Linked DNA regions of Homo sapiens: regions 1, 2, 3, 4, 6 and 7 are each linked to region 5. The links are contacts of gene promoters, found by promoter capture Hi-C in blood cells and fetal thymus (Javierre and others, 2016). All regions are on one chromosome and are shown on one strand. Each heading gives the region's core, a stretch centred on a gene start or on the middle of the fragment in contact. The rest is flanking DNA. Distances are from core to core; before and after follow the strand shown.

Region 1 (2,700 bases), core at 199-2,698, 430 kb before region 5:
AGTCCAGCTTCTGACCTGGCTCTGCCCCAGCTTCTGACCTGGCTCTGCCTCTGGCTCCAGCTCCCTGGGGGGCAGGTCAGACAGGCTGCAGGCTGATTTCAAGGCTGATAGGGAAAAACCTGTTGGGGCACATACCAGCAGGGCACCCCAGCCTGCACCCCAGAGGGGGTCCCAGCCCAGAAACTCCCTTGACTGCTGCCTTACTAGAGCCAGCTGACCTAGGTGGAGAGTGCCCAGGGATTGTGTATATCTGTGGAGAAGGAAGGGCACAAGTATTTGGGAGTGGAAGTTGATGAACAGAGTCAAGAGAGAAAAATGCAAAGGGTGTTACCTTCAGAGGGAAGCTCTATGCTCCCAAAAGGCAACAGGGAGATGGGGGAGGCTCCCTTGCCTGGTTTCTTAGATTGCTTCTGTTGCCTTTTGGCAGCCTGGGCCCTGTGGCTGTTTTAGCTGCAGGTGATGCAACCCCAGCAGCTGGACTTGAGGCTGTCTCTGCACAGAGCAGCAGGTGAACAGCCCTGTGGAGCCCCCGCCCCGCCATGCAGCAACTGCTCCAGCCTCACAGCTGGCTCCCTCAGGTCTAAACACAGCCTCTTTCCTGCCTCCCTGGAGAGCCTGGGTAGGGGCGGGGCACAGAAGCTACAGCCCTGCCTCCACTCACTCCTCTGCCTCTCTCCCAACTCAGGAAGGCCTTCACTGGCATTCCTACATCCCTGGAGGAGGGACCTGCAGTGGCTCCACCACACTGAGTAGACCATGCCGGAGGACACGCCATGAAAGGATATTTCTGTGGCGGTAATCACTGCTCCTCACTTTTCTCTCCTGTTAAAAGGAAAACATGCACCTGTGTCAGAACTGGAGAATGAGGGTTCAATATCCAGCTCTGCCACCTATGTTCTGTAAGCTTCGCTAGTCCTTTCAGCTCTCTAAATGGGAGGATTGAGAGAGACGGAGGCTGTGGGACATGCTGGGGCCTCCGAGGACAGGTTTCCTGGGATGATTAAATGAAGTAATGTGTCCACTAAAGAACTTATCCATGTAACCAAACACCACCTTGTCCCCAAAAACTATTGAACTCATAAAAATAAATAAATAAATAAATAAATAAATAAGGTAATGTGGCCAGGCACGGTGGCTCATGCCTGTAATCCCAGCACTTTGTGAGGCCGAGGCGGGTGGATCATGAGGCAGGAGATCGAGACCAGCCTTGGCTTACACAGTGAAACCCCGTCTCTACTAAAAATACAAAAAATTAGCCGGGCATGGCGGCGCATGCCTGTAATCCCAGCTACTCGGGAGGCTGAGGCAGGAGAATCACTTGAACCTGGGAGGCAGAGGTTGCAGTGAGCTGAGATGGCGCCACTGCACTCCACAGCCTGGGCGACAGAGTGAGACTCCGTCTCAAAAAAAAAAAAAAAAAAAAAAAGTAATCTGTGTAATTGCATGTGGCAGAGAAAAGTGCCCTGTAAAGTAGGGGTATTAGATTAAATAAATAAATATACAGGACATGCAGCTTAATCAGAATTTCACGTAAATGAGGAATCATTTGTTGGTACAAGTATGACCCAAATATTTCATTAAATATACTAACATTTTTTTTTTTGAGGCGGAGTCTCTCTCTGTTGCCCAGGCTGGAGTGCAGTGGCATTATGTTGGCTCACTGCAAGCTCCACCTCCCGGGTTCAAGCGATTCTCCTGCCTCCGCCTCCCGAGTAGCTGGGATTATAGGCGCCTGCCATCATGCCTGGCTAATTTTTTGTATTCTTAGTAGAGATAGGGTTTCACCATGTTGGCCAGGCTGGTCTCGAACTCCTGACCTCGTGATCCACCTGCCTTGGACTCCCAAAGTGCTGGGATTACAGGCGTGAGCCACCGCCTGTAATTATTATTTTTTGTTTATCTGAAATTATAGTTTAACAGTGTGTCCTGTATTTCACCTGACAACCCCAAAATGGAACTCAGTCTCAGCGTGGTGGCTAAAAGCAAAGCTTCTGGAGCCAGACTTCTCAGAGTCGGGATTCTGGTCTTCTGTGTGACCTTGGGCAACTATTCTGTGCTCAGTTTCCTCATCATCAACAGACAAGTAATAGTGTTTATGTTATAGGTTGTTGTGAGAATTAAATAACTACAGTGCATATAAAGCACTTAGAAGAGTTCTGGGCACAGCGCTGTTAAGTAGAAATGTCACAATGTTATCAAATATATAACGATAAGTATTGTTATATGGTAACTGTTACTGTTGTTATTACTTACCTCCTTAAGAATTCCGATCTTGGCTCGCTTCTGAAACTTTTCTGGCCAATCCCCAAAATGGCCACAAGAGGGCGTCAGCAGCCACTGAGAGTCTCGAGCCCCCTAGTGGCCCCTTGAGGTCTCTGGCTCCAGCCCCACATATTAAGGGGCTGTCTCAGCCCACTTGGGAAGTGCAGCCTCCTGAGGACGCCAGGTTCCTGGGTGGAATTGGTATGCAGGTAGCATCAGGGGAAGAGCCTCAGGTAGATACCTACTCAGGGGAGCCCCCGAGGCTGACCTCAGACACATGCAGGAGACTGGGTGACCGCAGTTAGGCTGGGTAAACACGGTACTGCAGCTCCGCAGCCGGGGTCCCCCTGGCCCTCGGCTTTCTGTACCCTTCAGAGTTTCTTCTGGCTACCTGCCCAGCAGATTTAGGGAGAACCGAAGGAAGCGTGAGGCCTCCTG
Region 2 (2,893 bases), core at 383-2,882, 340 kb before region 5:
TGTAATGTCAGCCACTTGGGAGGCTGAGGCAGGATAATCGCTTGAACCCGGGAGGCAGAGGTTGCAGTGAGACAAGAACGTACCGTTGCACTCCAGCCTGTGCAACAAGAGCAAAATTCCATCTCAATAAATAAATAAATAAATAAATAAAATCTCACATTGGAAGGAAACTTTAAAGGTCATCTTGTACCACCTTCTAATCATTCCTGTAAAGCCCCTGCTTGAGCTCCTTGTGTGACAGGGGCTGGGCACTGACTGTCTCCTGGCTGTCTATCTATTTCAGAAGGTTCTGGAAGGCAGTAATTTTTTACCTTGAGCCAAATCTGTCTTCTTAGTACAGCTTCACTTTTTACTTAGGACTGTTTAAGGCAACACATATCTTTTCCATACACAAGAGTTTCAGTAATTTAAAAATAGCTATTAAGTACGTTTGATTGGTTTCTCAGAGGATGTGGTCTACCACTCTACCCTTTTTCTACTGAAGATTTTCTAGTGTGTCTATATTCCTTTTAAAATGTGGTGCCCAATACAGAATACAAGATGCATGCAAACTCAAGATTATTCATCTAGATACTATACTTCTGTTGCTTAAGACAGGACCATACTGAACCTTGAAAGTCAGGGCAAGGACTTTGAATTTTGTTCTTTCAGGTATCGGGAAGCAATGGAAGGTTTTGAGCAGATAAACATTTTGGGAGCAGGGGCCATATCTTACTGTGTATCCCATTGATTCTAACTAGAATGTAAGCTCTAGGTGTCTGTCCCATTCATAGCATGGATTCAGTGCCTGGGGAGGGCTGGCATATTTTATGTATTTAATACGTCTACATGAATGAATTAATATGAATCTCTATCGGTGTCTGGCACATAGTGCATACAACAGTTCATACTTGTTGAATTCAGGCAGGTAAATGATCAAAGCCATACTTCAGGAAGATAACTGGCAAGAGTGCGTAAAAAGTATTGGAGCTAACACACACTATAGGGTGAAAACAACAAGAGGAGTTTTAGCAGTCTCAACAAGGGGAAACAAGGGCTAGGATAACACAGTGAGTAACAGAAAGGAAAGAATGGATGTGAGATTGTGAAAGAGAATTTGTGACGACCTGGAAATTAAGTGGACATGTAGTGGGAAGAAGAAGGAAGTGATAAAGAAAACTCCTGGGCTTAAATTTGGAAAGCTGAAAGAAAAATGATGCCATTCATAGAATTATTTATTTTAGGAGTTGCTTTTTTTTTTTTTTTTGAGACAGAGTCTTGCTGTGTCGCCCAGGCTGGAGTGCAGTGGTGCGATCTCGGCTCACTGCAAGCTCTGTCTCCCGGGTTCACGCCATTCTCCTGCCTCAGCCTCCCGAGTAGCTGGGACTACAGGTGCCCGCTGCCACGCCCGGCTAAGTTTTTGTAGAGACGGGGTCTCATCCTGTTAGCCAGGATGGTCTCGATCTCCTGACCTCGTGATCCGCCCGCTTCGGCTTCCCAGAGTGCTGGGATTACAGGCGTGAGCCACTGCACCCAGAGGAGTGGCAGATATTTTAAGGTACTAGGATGAAATCAGTCTGAGGTAGGCTGAATTTAAATGCACTGATACAATATGCTCAGGAGGCTAAAATGTGGGACTGGAATTCAGAAGTAGAGTGAGATCGGCTAGGCACGGTGATTCATTCCTATAATCCCAGCCCTTTGAGAGGCTGAGGCGGGTGGATTGCTTGAGCCCAGGAATTCGAGACCAGTCTGGGCAACATAGCAAGACCCCATCTCTACAAAAAAACAAAAACAAAATCAAATTAGCCTGGCGTGGTGGCACGCACCTATAGTCCCTCCCAGCTACTCAGGAGGCTGATGTGAGAGGATCGATTGAGCCCAGGAGGTCAAGGATGCAGTAAGCCATGATCGCACCACTGCACTCCAGCCTGGGTGACAAAGCAAGCCCCTGTCTAAATAAATAAATAAATAAATAATAAAATACATTCTTATTAGAAAGGAAAATGCTGTTTTGTTTCTAAGTATGCCATGTATATTTTTTACTCATTTTCATATGCAGTGATCCAGATTTTGTATGGCCTAAAATTTATACAACATGGGGGTCTCTCTTTAAGGAAAGAATAAAAGATTTAAAATACAAAATTAGGGCCAGGTGCAGTGGCTCACCCCTGTAATCCCAACACTTTGGGAGGCCGAGGTCGCGGGGGATCACCTTCGGTCAGGAGTTCGAGACCAGCCTGGCCAACATGGTGAAACCCTGTCTCTACTAAAAAGTACAAAAAATTAGCCAGGCATGGTGGTGCACGCCTGTAGTCCCAGCTACTCGGGAGGCTGAGGCAGGAGAATTGCTTGAACCTGGGAGGCAGAGGTTGTATTGAGCCAAGATCGCGCCACTGCACTCCAGCCTAGGCGGCAGAGTGAGACTGTCTCAAAAAAAAAAAAAATAAATTAGGTAAAATGTTTTCAAAATGGGGGGAAAAGTCACAACAAATTTAATTCTTATGCAAAATAGCTTTTCTTGAGAAATACACTTTCAAAAATGGTAGAGCTAAAATCTGTTTTCCAAAGGGAATACCTGTCTTAGAATTTTTTTTAAGTGGCTTTTAAGGTTCTTGTTTTGTTTGAGATGAGTAGCAGCACTTCTTGGGATTATAGTAGGAGAAAGGAGGTGTGGTGTGAAGCTATTGGTTTATGTTAAATTTGGACCTACTAAAGTAAGAATCAGAATAATGGCATTTACAAATCCTTGGCAACATCAATTCCACTTTCAGTTCCAGAAAGATCCATTACCTTTTCCTTTCTCTGTGTTCCTTTTCCAGATCACTTCATTCTTCCCACCTGCAATGACCTGCCATTCTTGAAGAAGACCAAAATACTAAAAAGACCCAGTTTTTCTCTCCTGGCCATAAGT
Region 3 (2,774 bases), core at 243-2,742, 400 kb before region 5:
GATGAGCCTTAAATTCCTTAGTCTAAGCTAAGCACAGTGGCTCACGCCTGTAGCTTGTAATCCCAGCACTTTGGGAGGCTGAGGCAGGTGGATCACCCGAGGTTGGGAGTTCAAGACCAGCCTGACCAACATGGAGAAACCCCGTCTCTACTAAAAATACAAAATTAGCCGGGTGTGGTGGCGCATGCCTGTAATCCCAGTTACTCGGGAGGCTGAGGCAGGAGAATTGCTTGAACCAGGGAGGCGGAGGTTGTGGTGAGCCGAGACTGCACCATCGTACTCCAGCCTGGGCAACAGGAGCGAAACTCCATCCCCCCCAAAAAAAAATTCCTTATCTACTTAATAAAGTATGTGCCAGGATCCATGATGGGTATCAGGAACACAACAATGAAAAATATATACTCCTTGTTTAAGGAATTACAGGAGCAACAGATATCTATACTGAGTATAAGAGGTATGACAGCTGGGCACAATAGCTCACACCTATAATCCTGGTATGTCGAAAGGATGAGGCAGACAGACTGCTTGAGCTCAGGAGTTCGAGACCAGCCTGGGCAACATGGCGAAACCCGTCTCTACTAAAAATACAAAAATCAGCCAGGTGTGGTGGCATGCACTTGTAGTCACAGCTACTTGGGAGGCTGATGTGGGAGGACCACTTGAACCCTGGAGGTTGAGGCTGCAGTGAGCTGTGATTGCACCACTGCACTCCAGCCTGGGTGGCAGAGTGAGACTGTCTCAAAAAACAAAACAAAACAAAACAAAACAAAACAAAACAGGCCAGGCGTGGTGGCTCACGCCTGTAATCCCAGCACTTTGGGAGGACAAGGCAGGTGGATCACTTGAGGTCAGGAGTTCGGGACCAGCCTGCCAACATGGTGAAACCCCGTCTCTACTAAAAATACAAAAAATTAGCCAGTCCCAGCTACCCGAGAGGCTGAGGCAGGAGAATCACTTGAACCCAGGAGGCGGAAGATGCAGTGAGCCGAGATCGTGCCATTGCACTCTAGCCTGGGCAACAAGAGTGAAACTCCGTCTGAAAACAAAACAAAACACCAAACAAAAAGCATGATAAGGATCATAAGGCCTTAGAAGTAACGGGCTGAGGTAACACCAAGAAGAAATATAACTTCTAATTTCTTCTGGCTACTCTGGGCACACTGCCTATCAGGTAGCCTTGTTCTGCAAGCAGCAGTATTAAAAAATGTTTTTAAAACTTTTAAAAATAAGAAATATGATTCTAAGAAGGGAGAGAGAAGGGAGAAAAGGATGAGTACAAAATACCTAAGAGTTAAACTGAGCCTTGAAAGATAATCAGGACTCCTTGATCCCTCTTCTTCGTCCCACTATCCTACTAAAACCTTAACCCTGGAAAAATGGAATTGGCTGCCCTTTCTGTACCTACACACAATGTGAATACTCCTAAAGAAAAAAAATAAATAAATCAAAACCATGCAGATTCGTATTATAATTCAGATAATTTATTTTCAACAATGACCTGCAGAGGAACAACAAAAAGGGCAAAGTAAAATTTGACCAAAAACAGTGAGAACACATACGAGGATAAGAAAGAGGAAGGCTATGGAATAGCTATAAAACCATCCTCATTACTGCTTCTTAAGTTCCCCCCCCACCAACCTCTGCCTCCAAAATTGTAGAGAAGAACAGTACCAGGAAGAGGATCCTGACTAGGCTGCCATCCACCTCCTCAACTCGGGACTTCCACCACGTGCCTTCCCACTCAGTCTTGATAAGCTGGCCACTCTTGAGCAGTACCATGGGGCGGTTGGGGTAGGCAGTGACATACTCCTCTATGAAGTCACGGCAGGAGATGTCTTCTATGTCCTCCCAAGTCTTTTTCACTGTTTCAAGGAAGAAGTAGAACTGAGAGGGCAGGTAGGGCATGTCTTGATAGGGAAAAGACTTGGCCAGGAGACATTTGATACTTTTTAAGTTGAAAAGGAGAGAAAAAGTAAAATCAGAACCTCAAGGGAAGCAAAGCCAAGACCACCTAAGTAATAAACCTAATGTACAAACTGTACATACTTACAAATCAAGTAAATACTAAATAAGAAATGTACAATATAGGTGATTCACTTATTTTACACAAATGGATGTTTCTCCTCTGGAAAATTCAAGTGGAAATTCTTGCTCACTTGTTGATCAGTCTAGTGGTAAATTTAAAAAGATCAGGTGGCATCATGAAATGAAAAAAATTAGTCCTTCCTTCTCATTCTCTATCAGGTTTTTAAGAGACTCAGAATGTGTTTACTGTCATGTTATGTGTAAACAAAAGTGTTAGTTGATTCTTCTGCAGTTAAAAATGATTGTTTCCATAGGAGTCTGCTCCCAAGCCAGGGTAACAAATATAGTGGACACTATGAGGTTCCATCTAACACAGCTTCTGTGGAAAGCATTATGCAGACTACACATTTATACAAATGTTAGGTGCAGTATGACACTAGGAAAGAAGTAACACCTTTTCCAACGTAACTCACTTAGAAATGAAATTGAAGCACATCTATAACGTGAGCAGTCTACTCAAGGCCATTCATGATCTTCTAGTGTCTCACTCTTTGTCTACAAAGACCCAGTCCTGGAGATGAACAATAAAACTGTATCTCTTTTGGGAGCAAACTGACCTTTGGGAGCAAAAGACATCAACCAAACTTATGCTCTTTGAGACTGAAATACCAAAAACACTAGGGCTTTTCAACTGGATGTCCTAAGAAGAAATACAAGGTAGAGGAGAAAACTGAGCTAAGGAATAAGGG
Region 4 (2,700 bases), core at 46-2,545, 360 kb before region 5:
TGGTTTTTGTAAAACCTTAGTTCAGTTTTAAATTCCTAATCTTATAGAGGATTTAGAGTTCTATTAGCTCTTCTCCCTTTTCAGGCTTCTTCTTCTGCATTGTACAGGATCAGGAAGAAAGGAAGGGGAAAATGTGAAGTGTTTCTCTATTTAATGAATCAGCTGTGGCCAACTGTGAGTAGGTGACCTGGTCTTACTCTGGTTAGATCTGGTGGTTTCAGAGTGAAGGATGTTTGTAGTTTTTTGAGTAGCGTTTCTCTTCATTCTGGACTTTTCTGTCATTGAAGACCCCTTCAAATGGTGCTGCTTATCCTCTATTCTCCCAACCTAAACTCACGTTGGATATCACATGGCTTGGTACAGTGGTCTCCTGGCACCTCCCACTGCTCCTGCTCCTTCGGAGACACCTGAAGTCCTTCAAGGGGAGTGGCCAGACTGTGATGGGTTGGGGGGATTGGCCACATTTTCTTCCTAGGCATACTCTGCCAAGGTACCTATAAACCCTGCCAGCACAGATTATTCCAGTGGGCCTTCCACTTTCAGATCTCTGTAGCCAAGAAATTGACATGATTTTTTATGTTTGCACAGGTTAAAAACTCACACCATGCTTTACTCCAACCTGACCAGAGTGGTTTGGCAGGTTCTACAGTTTAAAGCATCTATCTAGGGAATGAAATGCTGTTAGTCTCTCCTTGCTGGTGTCACCAATTGTACCAATGTCTCTCTTGGCATGCCCTCATCTTTGGCTTTGGGAGGAAGGGGAAGTACTTTTATCTTTGCTTCTCATCACAAATTTTGTACATCCCATAATGCCGATAATGAGAATTCCCAGTTGCCCTCCCAGTTCATTCTTTTTGTTGTTGTTGTTGTTGTTTTTGAGGTAGGGTCTCACTCTGTCACCCAGGCTGGAGTGCAGTGGCATGGTCATAGCTCAATGCAGCCTCAACCTCCTGGGCTCAAGTGATCCTCCTGCCTCAGCCTCCTGGATAGCTGTGACTACAGGTGCCCACCACCATACTTGGCTGATTTTTAAATTTTTTGTAGAGACGAGGCCTTACTATGATGCCCAGGCTGGTTTCAAACTCCTGGGCTCAAGCAACCCTCTGCCCACCTCAGCTTCCCAAAGTGCTGGGATTATAGGCATGAGCCACCACACCCGGCCCCAGTTCATCCTTCTTTTTTTTTTGAGATGGAGTCTCGCTCTGTCGCCCAGCCTGGAGTGCAGTGGTGTGATCTCAGCTCACTGCAAGCTCCGCCTCCCGGGTTCACGCCATTCTCCTGCCTCAGCCTCCCGAGCAGCTGGGACTACAGGTGCCTGCCACCACACCCGGCTAATTTTTTGTATTTTTAGTAAAGATGGGGTTTCACCGTGTTAGCCAGGATGGTCTCGATATCCTGACCTCGTGATCTGCCCGTCTCGGCCTCCCAAAGTGCTGGGATTACAGGCGTGAGCCACTGCGCCCGGCCTTATTCTTTATATATACTGTGGTGGGACAAGGGGTGGGAGTTGGTGGATATACGATTGACTACGCCATCTTCTCATGAGATTTGGAAGAGGTTCTGGCTCTAATTGTTGCAGCTTTCTTTAGATTATAAGTAGTATTGTGCCTTCAATAAGACTTGACCACAATTCTGGGGCAACAGGGTAAGTTGCACTCATATCTTTTACACTGGGTTTTCATGCCACCCCCTGGACTCCTCCCAGATGTGCAGATGGAATGGGCAGATAAGGCCGGGTGCCACGGCTCATGCCTATAATCCCAGCACTTTGGGAGGCCGAGGTTGGGGGGGATCACCTGAGGTCAGGAGTCCGAGACCAGCCTGGCCAACATGGTGAAACCTCATCTCTACTAAAAATACAAAAACTAGCTGGGCATGGTGGTGTGTGCCTGTAGTCCCAGCTACTTGGGAGGCTGATGCAGGAGAATGACTTGAATCCGGGAGGTAGAAGTTGCAGTGAGCCAAAATTACACCCTTGCACTCCAGCCTGGGTAACAGAATGAAACTCGGCCTAAAAAAAAAAAAAAAAAAAGAATTGGCAGATTCTGCAAGTTCCTTATGAAGGGTGATTTGTGTGTGTGTGTGTGTGTGTGTGTGTGTGTGTGTGTGTGTGGTTTTCTTTTTGATTATCTTGTCTTATGATCACACATAATTTTAAAATTTGTGTGTATCTCCTCTACTTTAATCCTTTTAAGTTGGCAAAAGCATCATTCCCAATCACAAATACATAGCAGTTCTACAGTTTTATGTTTCTGAATGGCTGTTTAAAGACTATCCTAAATTATAACTTAGTTTGACAAGCATTCAAGAGTGAAGTTTAACTTGCTACTATTTTAAAAGCATGTGACCTTATAGATCATTTATAAAATGTGAGAAATGCTAAATAATCTTTGATATTACACATAAAACACACTAAAATGTCTTTCAATAAGTAAAAGGAACCATTTTAAATACAGGGAATTCTAATTAGATTGGCATAGTTAAGGCCAAAAATATAAAGTAGACATTACTACCTTATTTATCTTCAACCCTTGCCTTTATGGACACAAAACACAGGTGAATCTTGCTTGGTTCTGAGACAGTGAAGGAATTTCTCCAGTATTCAAATATATTCACATAACCAGTTATATAAATCTAAATATAAAACCAATCTCCAGTAAGTTTGAAGATGGTACTCACCATCTTTGTGAAAAGTTTAAC
Region 5 (2,700 bases), core at 13-2,512:
AAGGGCCCATGTTCCACCCAAGTCTTCAGGCTCTGCCTGACTCTTGTTACTCCAGCTGAGGGAAGAAGAAATGGGGTGATAGTCACTGCCTGCCCCTTCTCTGATGCCGACCCCTCTTCATGCCCTCTCTGCCTCTGCTTCTCTCTGCCACCGAGATCTCTTCTCGCAGCCCCTCTCCACGGGTCTACCCAGTACACATAATCCCATCCCGAGCTGGGTTTGGCTTTGGCAGTTCCCTGGAGAAGTGAGGGGTGGGGGTGACGTGAGCTCCCGGGGCCCGGGCCAGGCCTGGCTCCCTCTCTGGAAAAGTCCCACCCCACCCTCCCCTGCGCAGCCCGGCAGGGGCCCATGCCCCCTCCTCTGCAGAAACACACGCACATTTATGCTTCTCACCCCTTTCCATGTCCCTCATTTGGTGTCGTTCCCGGCCCAGGACGAGGAAAGGAGAGGTCAGAGGTGGTCACTCTGGTGCCAGAGTAGACCCTGGTCTGGACAAACGCGGGCTCCTCCTGGCCACACCTCTCCACACTGCCCAGTGAAGACCAAGGAACAGAGACCTGCGCAGGGCTCACCCCTTCACCCCCAGGTCTCCCTGCTGGAGAGTGGTTGGACCCTGTGTTTCTGGGCCTAGCCATGGAGAATCCCTGTCCTGAGTCCGAATTCCCGGGCCCTCAGAGCCCTCCACTCCTGGGTCTGGCAGGCCACCCCAACAGGTGTCTTTCTTTTTTGTCAACCTCTTCTGCCATCGGGCTGAGCTGGATCAAGGGCACCCACCTGCGTCCCTCGCGGCGACCCTGTCCTCCAAGTTCAGGAGTGCAGTGGGGGACACACCGTCCGAGAGCACCCTCCTAGAGAGAGGGCAGGAGGCACCGGCCGCGCGGGGAGGTCATGGGTCTGTTTTCCAACTTTACTATGTGACTTAGGAGGAATTTTGGTTCACTCCCCGCCCGGGTGATGGGGCCAGAGTTCCACGGGATCAGACTCCCTCCCCAGGAATTCGACCCCAGGGGCTGGAAGATTGTCCGAGGCCACCGGAGCTGGGTCCGGGGTCGTGGCGGGGTCGCGACCGCACAGCGCAGGGAGAGGGGACGACGCGGGCGCGCGGGGCGGGCGGTCTAACGGGACCCGGGAGAGGGGCGGCCGGGGCCGGGGTCCCGGGGAGGTCTCTACCTGCTCTGCGAGCCCCCGGTGGCCCGTTAACCCTTCTGCGCCCAGGCGCTCTCTCCAGGCAACCTCGCTCCGCGGCGGCCACTGGGGCCCCTGAGCCGCGCTCCGGTCACGGCCGCCTCGGCCGCAACTCCGCCCTCGCGCCCGCCCCCGCCCAGCCCCGCCCGCCACGCGCCCCAGCCCGCGCCCCTCGGCGGCCCCGGGGTGGGGCCGGTCTGCCTCGCAGCCCCACTCGCCAGGACCACCCACCCCGGGCTGCGCGCCGGGCGCCCCCCGACGGCTGCGTGAGCTGAAGCCCGGGCTGGCCCAGCCGGGGTCGGAGGCTGCAGTCGCTCCCGGGCGCTGTCCTCGTGCCCGGCCGAGACTAGGGACTTAAGCAGCCCGGGCTGGCCCAGCCGGGGTCAGAGGCTGCAGTCGCTCCCGGGCGCTGTCCTCGTGCCCGGCTGAGACTAGGGACTTAAGCAACCCGGGCCTCCGAGCCGCTCGGGTGAGCGGTGCGAACACGGCGCGGCGCGGCGCGGCACAGGCGGGGCAGCCTCCAGGGGCGCCTGGAGCGAGGCGGCCTGGGAGAGCCGCTGGTCCGGGAGGGAAGCGCCCTGGACGGAGGTACCCGCGGCCCCCGATCCGCGTGGGTCCAGGCTCTCCCCTCCACGCAGCCTCCCCTGCAAACTCAGTCACTCCTGCCTCTCCCGTGTTGGGCAGTGGTGGTTCAGATTGCTGGGACTTCTATGAGCTTCGGTTTTTTTCCTCAGTAAGGTTTTACACTCGGGACTCAGCGAAAGGACAGCGTGCTGACTTCTGAGTCAGACTGATCTGGATTTGAACCTCAGCTCCAGCTCTTGCCAGCTATGTGGTCTTCGACGAATACTTCCACCCCTGTGTGGTGCAGTTTGCTCATCTGCAAAATGGGACTAATCTAATATATATGATGGGCTTGGATATGTCTCTTTATGCATTTATACATGGAAGAATGCACCCCAAACTCAGTAGTATTGGTGACATCTGGGGAGGGATGCAGGGTTGGGGGAGGACTGAAAAAGGCTTTTGCTTTTTACTCTGCGTTATGTTTATTATTATTATATTATTATTTATTTATTTTTTTTGAGACGGAGTCTCACTCTGTCGTCCAGGCTGGAGTGCAGTGGTGCTATCTTGGCTCACTGCAAGCTCCGCCTCCCAGGTTCACGCCATTCTCCTGCCCTAGCCTCCTGAGTAGCTGGGACTACAGGCGTCTGCCACCACGCCCGGCTAATTTTTTGTATTTTTAGTAGAGACGGGGTTTCATCGTGTTAGCCAGAATGGTCTCGATCTCCTGACCTCGTGATCCGTCCGCCTCGGCCTCCCAAAGTGCTGGGATTACAGGCGTGAGCCACCGCACCCAGCTATGTAATGTTATTTTTGTGAATTTTTTTAACCACAAGAGCAATCCATCTATTAGTTTTATCTTTTTTTTTTCTTTTTTTTTTTGAGATGGAGTTTCACTCTTGTTGCCCAGGCTGGAGTGCAGTGGCGCGATCTCGGCTCACTGCAACC
Region 6 (2,735 bases), core at 215-2,714, 410 kb before region 5:
AGTAGATACACAGGCTCCATTCTAAGAACAAAGTCTGTTAGAAGCAGGAACACTTGGACAAATATGGGATGGGAGGGATGTCAGGCCGAGGTTAGAGTGGTGATCTCTCCCCACCCTTTAGGGCCTTTGGAGGTGGAGAAGGGATCCTGCCTGCTAGCACCACATTGGAAGGGATCATCTGGTCCAGAACCCCCATTTCTATCAACTAGGAGCTGGGGGGAGTAGCTAGCCCAGAGACTTCGGGTCAGGGTTCAACAATCAGGAAGACCCAGTTCCTGAGGAAACGACAGTTCAAGAAGGGTTGGGAAGAAGGCTGTCCTCTAAAGAAGACGTCCTCTGCATTCAATGGCCCCACAGCAACAGAGTAGCTCCTTGCCTTCCACACTGCCCACCTCGTAGTTGTAGTCCCAAGTAAGTTCTGTCCCAGCCCGGATTCTTCTGAAGAGGAAGAAAAGGATGGTGTGTGGCAAAGACAGCAGATAACCCAGGCACTTGGGGTTACTGAATATGTAGGTGGAGTTGGATCATGAATGGAGGAGGGGCCCTTAGAACTTCAGTGGTCCTTGCCCCTCCCCAGTCATCCCCTTTCCTGACTCCTTACTTGCTGGCAAAGAAGGCCACCCAGGGGAAGCGAAGATCATGGGTATCCACGAAGACATTCTGGACAAACAGGTTGGGGCTGCAACTGTGCTGTAGGTTTAAGGACAGGATCAAATAAGAACCAGGGAAACTGAACCTGGCTTTGCAGGGAGAGTGAGAGTTGGAAGAAAAATGATGCCATCTGACCCTCCCCATTATAATAGATGCTTTGAAAGAAAGCTACCTCTTTAAGATCCTTTGAGATCAAGAGTTTATAACAAGAAAAGGGCTTATAGAGTATGTTAAAAGAAATCTGAGGACCATGGGATAATCCAGCATCTAGAGGTGGGGAGAGGGGTCTCACGTTGAGGTAGCGGCCCAGGTTGCCTTCAAGCTTGGCATCAATGATGTAGCAAGACTCCTCGCCATCATAGAATTGGCGTGTGTTCTTACGAACAGGTGCGCTCTCCCCCTTGTCCACAGAGGCCATGTTGGTTGATTTAATTGCAATCCCATGGGTTGATTTAAGAGCAAAGCCTCGGGTTGATTTTACTGCCACTTGACGCTTCATTGGACCTGGACAGGAGGGAGAATGGGGTCAGGACCCATCCCAACTCATGAACAGACATTCTATCATGAATGGACATTCTACCCCTATTTCTCTCCCAACATTGCAGCTGAGAAACACCAATAAGCTGGAACTCAAAGATCCTAAGTAGCAGGTTTTTTTTTCAAGCATAATTAGATCTGCTAGACAAAGGAGCTGAGGGGAAAGAGTAAAAAAATGGAAATGAGAGAGGATGTGTCAAACAATAGTTTAGCTTGGAGTCAGAAAGCCCTCCCAGAGATGCTCCAATTCTTAGGATCTGAATTTTTACCCACTACTTCTTTAGCTTCCTTAAAAAATGCTCTATCCCAAGTTTCTTACTATTTCTTCCCACCATTCCCAAAATTTTTCCAGGCTACCAGTCATGTTCTTCTTGTCCTCAAAGTCATCCCCTTCAGAGCCAGAGGATATGGTCTGGATATCATCACTGTCAACCGCTGTAGCCGAAGTCTGACCAGCAGTGGGCTTTCGGCTGGTCCCACTTTCCCCCTCACTTTCTGTGCTGCTGGACAGTGTCAGGACATCCTGGGGAAGCAGGAGGGTAAGAAGTAAGAGAAGTAAATGGGAAGGGCTCCTTTAAGTCCTTGCTGTTACCCACGGTTTGGCAGGAAAGGGCGGTGGCAAGAGGAAGATTAGATGCTGGATGAAAGAAAATAAGGCAGGAAGTCAAGGCTAAAGAAGTAGGAGAAGACCTAACAGTAATTATAGTGAAGGACTTGATGAGGTGACAATGGCCCATTTTCCTTTATTAGACTCTGAATAAGCTTGAGGTGACTTACATCAGGGTTGGACTGAGCAGAAGCCATGAGTCTTCGGCTTTGATGCATACTAGTCTTACTAGGTGGGCGGCGAAGTCCTTCAGGCTTCACAGGAGAAGGATTGTAACCGTAATTTCGAGAGCTTTCAGTAACTCTAATGGGAGGGGAAGGAATGAAGCCAACAGGTTACTGGCTGTTTCTTAGGCTTCTAGCCTAGGTTTGAGAGAAGGCAGATTTGGAGACAGGTCAAAAAGACAGGCACTGGGCTGGACACGGTAGCTCATGGCTGTAATCCCAGCACTTTGGGAGGCTGAGGATCCCCTTTGGGAGCATCGCTTGAGCCCAGGAGTTCAAGACCAGTCTGGGAAACATGGTGAAACCCCGTGTCTACAAAAAATACAAAAACTAGCCAGGCATGGTGGTGCACACCCGTAGTCCCAGCTACTAGGGAGGCTGAGGTGGGAGAATCTCTTGAGCCTGGGAGGGGGAGGTTGCAATGAGCTGAGATTACGCCACTGCACTCCAGCCTGGGTGACAAAGCAAGACTCTGTCTCAAAACAAAACAAAACAAAAGGCACTTACACTGACATCTTGTTTCGGTCGTCAGTGTCCTGGAAAAGAACAAGTGAAGGGTTAAATGCTTTCACAGCCTCGGGTAACAAGTCCAATAATCAGACTTCAAATGACCTCCACAGATAACATCAGCCAGTGACAGGTACACATTCTAAAGTGGGGTGGGTAAACCACTCTGCAACTTGACAGAAATCCTCACTACACTCCCTGGCTGGAGC
Region 7 (2,734 bases), core at 1-2,500, 380 kb before region 5:
CAGTAGAGGAATTAAGAGATATAGAATCCATTACGATGTATATATATTTAAGTATAGACAGTCCTCAATTTAAATGGGCCACATTCCAAAGTGTCTCTGTTTAGAATTTAGAATGCTTTTTCTATAGAAAAATGTTTTAAATAGTGGTTTAGTTTCCAGACTAGTTCCTCAAAAATCCAAAGTAAGCCCAAAGTACAGTACTTTCACCCTTACCTCATTATTTACCTTGCTGTTATCTGAAAATGTATCCTGGCTGGCAGTGGTGGCTCACACCTGCAATCCCAGCAATTTGGGAGGCTGAGGCAGGTAGATCACTTGAGGTCAGGAATTTGACCTCCCCAGCCTGGCCGACATGGTAAAACTCCATCTCTACTAAAAATACAAAAATTAGCCGGGTGTGGTGGCACACGCTTGTCGTCCCAGCTACTCCGGAGGCTGAGACAGGAGAGCTGCTTGAACTCGGGAGGCGGAGGCTGCAGTGAGCCGAGATCACGTCACTGTACTCCAGCCTGGGTGAGACAGAGCAAGTCTCTGTCTAAAAAAAAAATAAAATAAAATAAAAATAAAATAAAAAAATGCTCATTATCAGTGGCCATCAGAGAAATGCAAATCAAAACCACCATGAGATACCGTCTCACACCAGTTAGAATGGCGATCATTAAAAAGTCAGGAAACAACAGGTGCTGGAGAGGATGTAGAGAAACAGGAACACTTTTACACTGTTGGTGGGACTGTAAACTTGTTCAACCATTGTGGAAGACAGTGTGGCGATTCCTCAAGGATCTAGAACTAGAAATACCATTTGACCCAGCAATCCCATTACTGGGTATATACCCAAAGGATTATAAATCATGCTGCTATAAAGACACATGCACACGTATGTTTATTGCGGCACTATCCACAATAGCAAAGACTTTAAACCAACCCAAATGTCCATCAATGATAGACTGGATTAAGAAATGTGGCACATATACACCATGGAATACTATGCAGCCATAAAAAAGGATGAGTTCATGTCCTTTGTAGGCACATGGATGAAGCTGGAAACCATCATTCTGAGCAAACTATAGCAAGGACAGAAAACCAAACACCGCACGTTCTCATTCATAGGTGGGAATTGAACAATGAGAACACCTGGACACAGGATGGGGAACGTCACATACTGGGGCCTGTCGTGGGGTGGGGGGAAGGGGGAGGGATAGTATTAGGAGATATACCTAATGTAAGTGACACCAACATGGCACATGTATACATATGTAATAAACCTGCACGTTGTGCACATATACCCTAGAACTTAAAGTATAATAAATTTAAAAACAATGTATTCTAAGTGACAACTAGAGCACCAGAAACAAATCTTTTGGGGGTATGGGAACTTACTAATGCTTCAGAGTTACGTAAGACAGAAATTCTTTACAATCCTCACTCCCTGGATGATCTTACTAGGGAAATGAAGCAATTGTTCTAAGATAGAGCACAGGAGGAAGAAGGGGAAAGGACTTAAGACTTGGACTCCCTTACTGCTGATCATGTATTAGCTGCTGACAGATGAAAATTATATTTACGGCTGATTGTAAGGTCAGATTTTTGACCATAAACTTTGAGGAAGAGTAAGGTTCTAAACATCTGTACTTCATAAAGTATAAAATGTTTGGTACACAGCCTGGCCAACATGGTGAAACCCTGTCTCTACTAAAAATATAAAAAATTAGCTGGGTGTGGTGGCGGATGCCTATAATTCCAGCTACTCGGGAGGGGGAGGTGGGAGAATCACTTGAACCCGAGAGGTGGAGGTTGCAGTGAGCCAGGATCACTCCACTGCACTCTAGCTTGGGTGACAGAGCGAGACTCCGTCTCAAAACATAAAATAAAATGCTTGGTTCAATGTCATGAACAATTATTCTCTAAAAACATCTCCCAATGGAGAGATTTCCTTCTATTTTCCATGGAGTTCTCACCTGGATGCATCATCAAAGAGTTGGTCAACGTGAGCCACCTCAGATTCTTTCTGTATTACCCATGTCTCTAACTCTGCTAGCTGCTTCTTGCGTTGCTGTACACAATCCATCTTCTCCAGTTCCTCATCGATGAAATGCCGAAGTTCCTCCATAGAGATACCCAGTTCCTCAACCACTGCCTGTTGCAGCTCTGCAATCTCTTCAGACTCCACTGTAGCTGTTGCTGCATCCAAACCAATGCACCCAGGAAGGGAAGACATGCTTTTGTCCTCTGCATGGAACAGAAAACAAATTAAATTGGAGTCCTTATAACTACAATCAATCAATAGAGAATTTCAGTTCCCTAATAAAACTAATTCCTACTCTGCTGCCTGTTATTCTATTCAAATATTCCATGTTCTCCCTCCCTATTCTCCAGAATCTGATGCTGAGATTTTTAAGAGTTCTTATCTTCTGCTGTACGCTAACACTCCTGAAAAAGATTTAAGAGTTTGAGACGGCATGGAGAACATTCATTAAGCAGTAGAGAGCTACTGAAAATAATGTTTTGGGCTGGCACAGTGGCTTACACCTGTAATCTCAGCACTTTTAGAGGCCGAGGCAGGAGGGTCGCTTGAGGGCAGGAGTTCAAGACCAGCCTGGGCAACATGGCAAGACTCGTCTTTACAAAAAAATACAAAAATTAGCCACGTGTGGTGGTGCACGCCTTTAGTTCCAGCTACTCAGGAGGCTGAAGTGGGAGGATCGCTTGAGCCCAGGAGTAGCTGCTGTAGTGA

Evidence for each region. The method cuts DNA at HindIII sites, captures the fragments that hold promoters and counts their contacts. A CHiCAGO score of 5 or more calls a contact.
Region 1: a contact is called between a fragment that was not itself captured here and the fragment with the promoter of ADAMTSL4 in region 5, in 2 of 17 cell types (fetal thymus and erythroblasts). The highest score is 6.9, in fetal thymus.
Region 2: a fragment that was not itself captured here is called in contact with the fragment with the promoter of ADAMTSL4 in region 5 in 1 of 17 cell types (neutrophils); the score reaches 5.1 in neutrophils.
Region 3: a contact is called between a fragment that was not itself captured here and the fragment with the promoter of ADAMTSL4 in region 5, in 2 of 17 cell types (erythroblasts and naive CD8 T cells). The highest score is 7.3, in erythroblasts.
Region 4: a fragment that was not itself captured here is called in contact with the fragment with the promoter of ADAMTSL4 in region 5 in 1 of 17 cell types (endothelial precursors); the score reaches 5.9 in endothelial precursors.
Region 6: a fragment that was not itself captured here is called in contact with the fragment with the promoter of ADAMTSL4 in region 5 in 5 of 17 cell types (activated CD4 T cells, fetal thymus, erythroblasts and 2 more); the score reaches 6.4 in activated CD4 T cells.
Region 7: a fragment that was not itself captured here is called in contact with the fragment with the promoter of ADAMTSL4 in region 5 in 5 of 17 cell types (endothelial precursors, erythroblasts, neutrophils and 2 more); the score reaches 9.6 in endothelial precursors.

What each region holds. Positions count from the first base shown.
Region 1 is chr1:150,979,299-150,981,998 of GRCh38, reverse strand. It overlaps LOC105371438 (a long non-coding RNA gene), which reads left to right and starts at 494. Exons shown (of 3, transcript XR_922135.3): 1 at 494-578; 2 at 686-795; 3 at 1,913-2,041. It also overlaps a transcript of ANXA9 not described here. The HindIII fragment of the contact is 1,084 bases long and covers 907-1,990 here.
Region 2 is chr1:150,887,753-150,890,645 of GRCh38, reverse strand. The region is part of intron 1 of CTXND2 (cortexin domain containing 2); the gene reads right to left. It also overlaps a transcript of LOC107985204 not described here. Among named protein-coding and RNA genes, the nearest start is that of CTXND2, 2.1 kb to the right of the region's middle. The HindIII fragment of the contact is 3,730 bases long and covers 1-2,893 here.
Region 3 is chr1:150,944,006-150,946,779 of GRCh38, reverse strand. It overlaps SETDB1 (SET domain bifurcated histone lysine methyltransferase 1), which reads right to left. Exons shown (of 22, transcript NM_001366418.1): 9 at 1,672-1,862. Among named protein-coding and RNA genes, the nearest start is that of SETDB1, 19 kb to the right of the region's middle. RefSeq lists a cis regulatory region at 2,599 and an enhancer at 2,527-2,671. The HindIII fragment of the contact is 8,160 bases long and covers 1-2,774 here.
Region 4 is chr1:150,904,476-150,907,175 of GRCh38, reverse strand. The region is part of intron 1 of CTXND2 (cortexin domain containing 2); the gene reads right to left. It overlaps LOC107985204 (a long non-coding RNA gene), which reads left to right. Exons shown (of 3, transcript XR_001738231.2): 2 at 85-174. Among named protein-coding and RNA genes, the nearest start is that of CTXND2, 19 kb to the right of the region's middle. The HindIII fragment of the contact is 6,110 bases long and covers 1-2,700 here.
Region 5 is chr1:150,547,970-150,550,669 of GRCh38, reverse strand. It overlaps ADAMTSL4 (ADAMTS like 4), which reads right to left and starts at 1,262. Exons shown (of 19, transcript NM_019032.6): 1 at 1,171-1,262; 2 at 775-848. It overlaps LOC124904417, which reads right to left and starts at 380. Exons shown (of 1, transcript XM_047438226.1): 1 at 1-380. The coding sequence starts at 380. It overlaps ADAMTSL4-AS2 (ADAMTSL4 antisense RNA 2), which reads left to right. Exons shown (of 6, transcript NR_187269.1): 6 at 1,920-2,106. RefSeq lists an enhancer at 1-56 and silencers at 1,392-1,531, 1,702-1,851, 1,783-2,077. The HindIII fragment of the contact is 42,411 bases long and covers 1-2,700 here.
Region 6 is chr1:150,961,950-150,964,684 of GRCh38, reverse strand. SETDB1 (SET domain bifurcated histone lysine methyltransferase 1) reads right to left here. Exons shown (of 22, transcript NM_001366418.1): 17 at 2,527-2,555; 18 at 1,966-2,098; 19 at 1,546-1,711; 20 at 944-1,155; 21 at 602-690; 22 at 1-438. The coding sequence ends at 321. Among named protein-coding and RNA genes, the nearest start is that of CERS2, 12 kb to the left of the region's middle. The HindIII fragment of the contact is 977 bases long and covers 976-1,952 here.
Region 7 is chr1:150,927,199-150,929,932 of GRCh38, reverse strand. SETDB1 (SET domain bifurcated histone lysine methyltransferase 1) reads right to left here. Exons shown (of 22, transcript NM_001366418.1): 2 at 1,959-2,229. The coding sequence starts at 2,218. Among named protein-coding and RNA genes, the nearest start is that of SETDB1, 2.2 kb to the right of the region's middle. The HindIII fragment of the contact is 3,618 bases long and covers 1-2,734 here.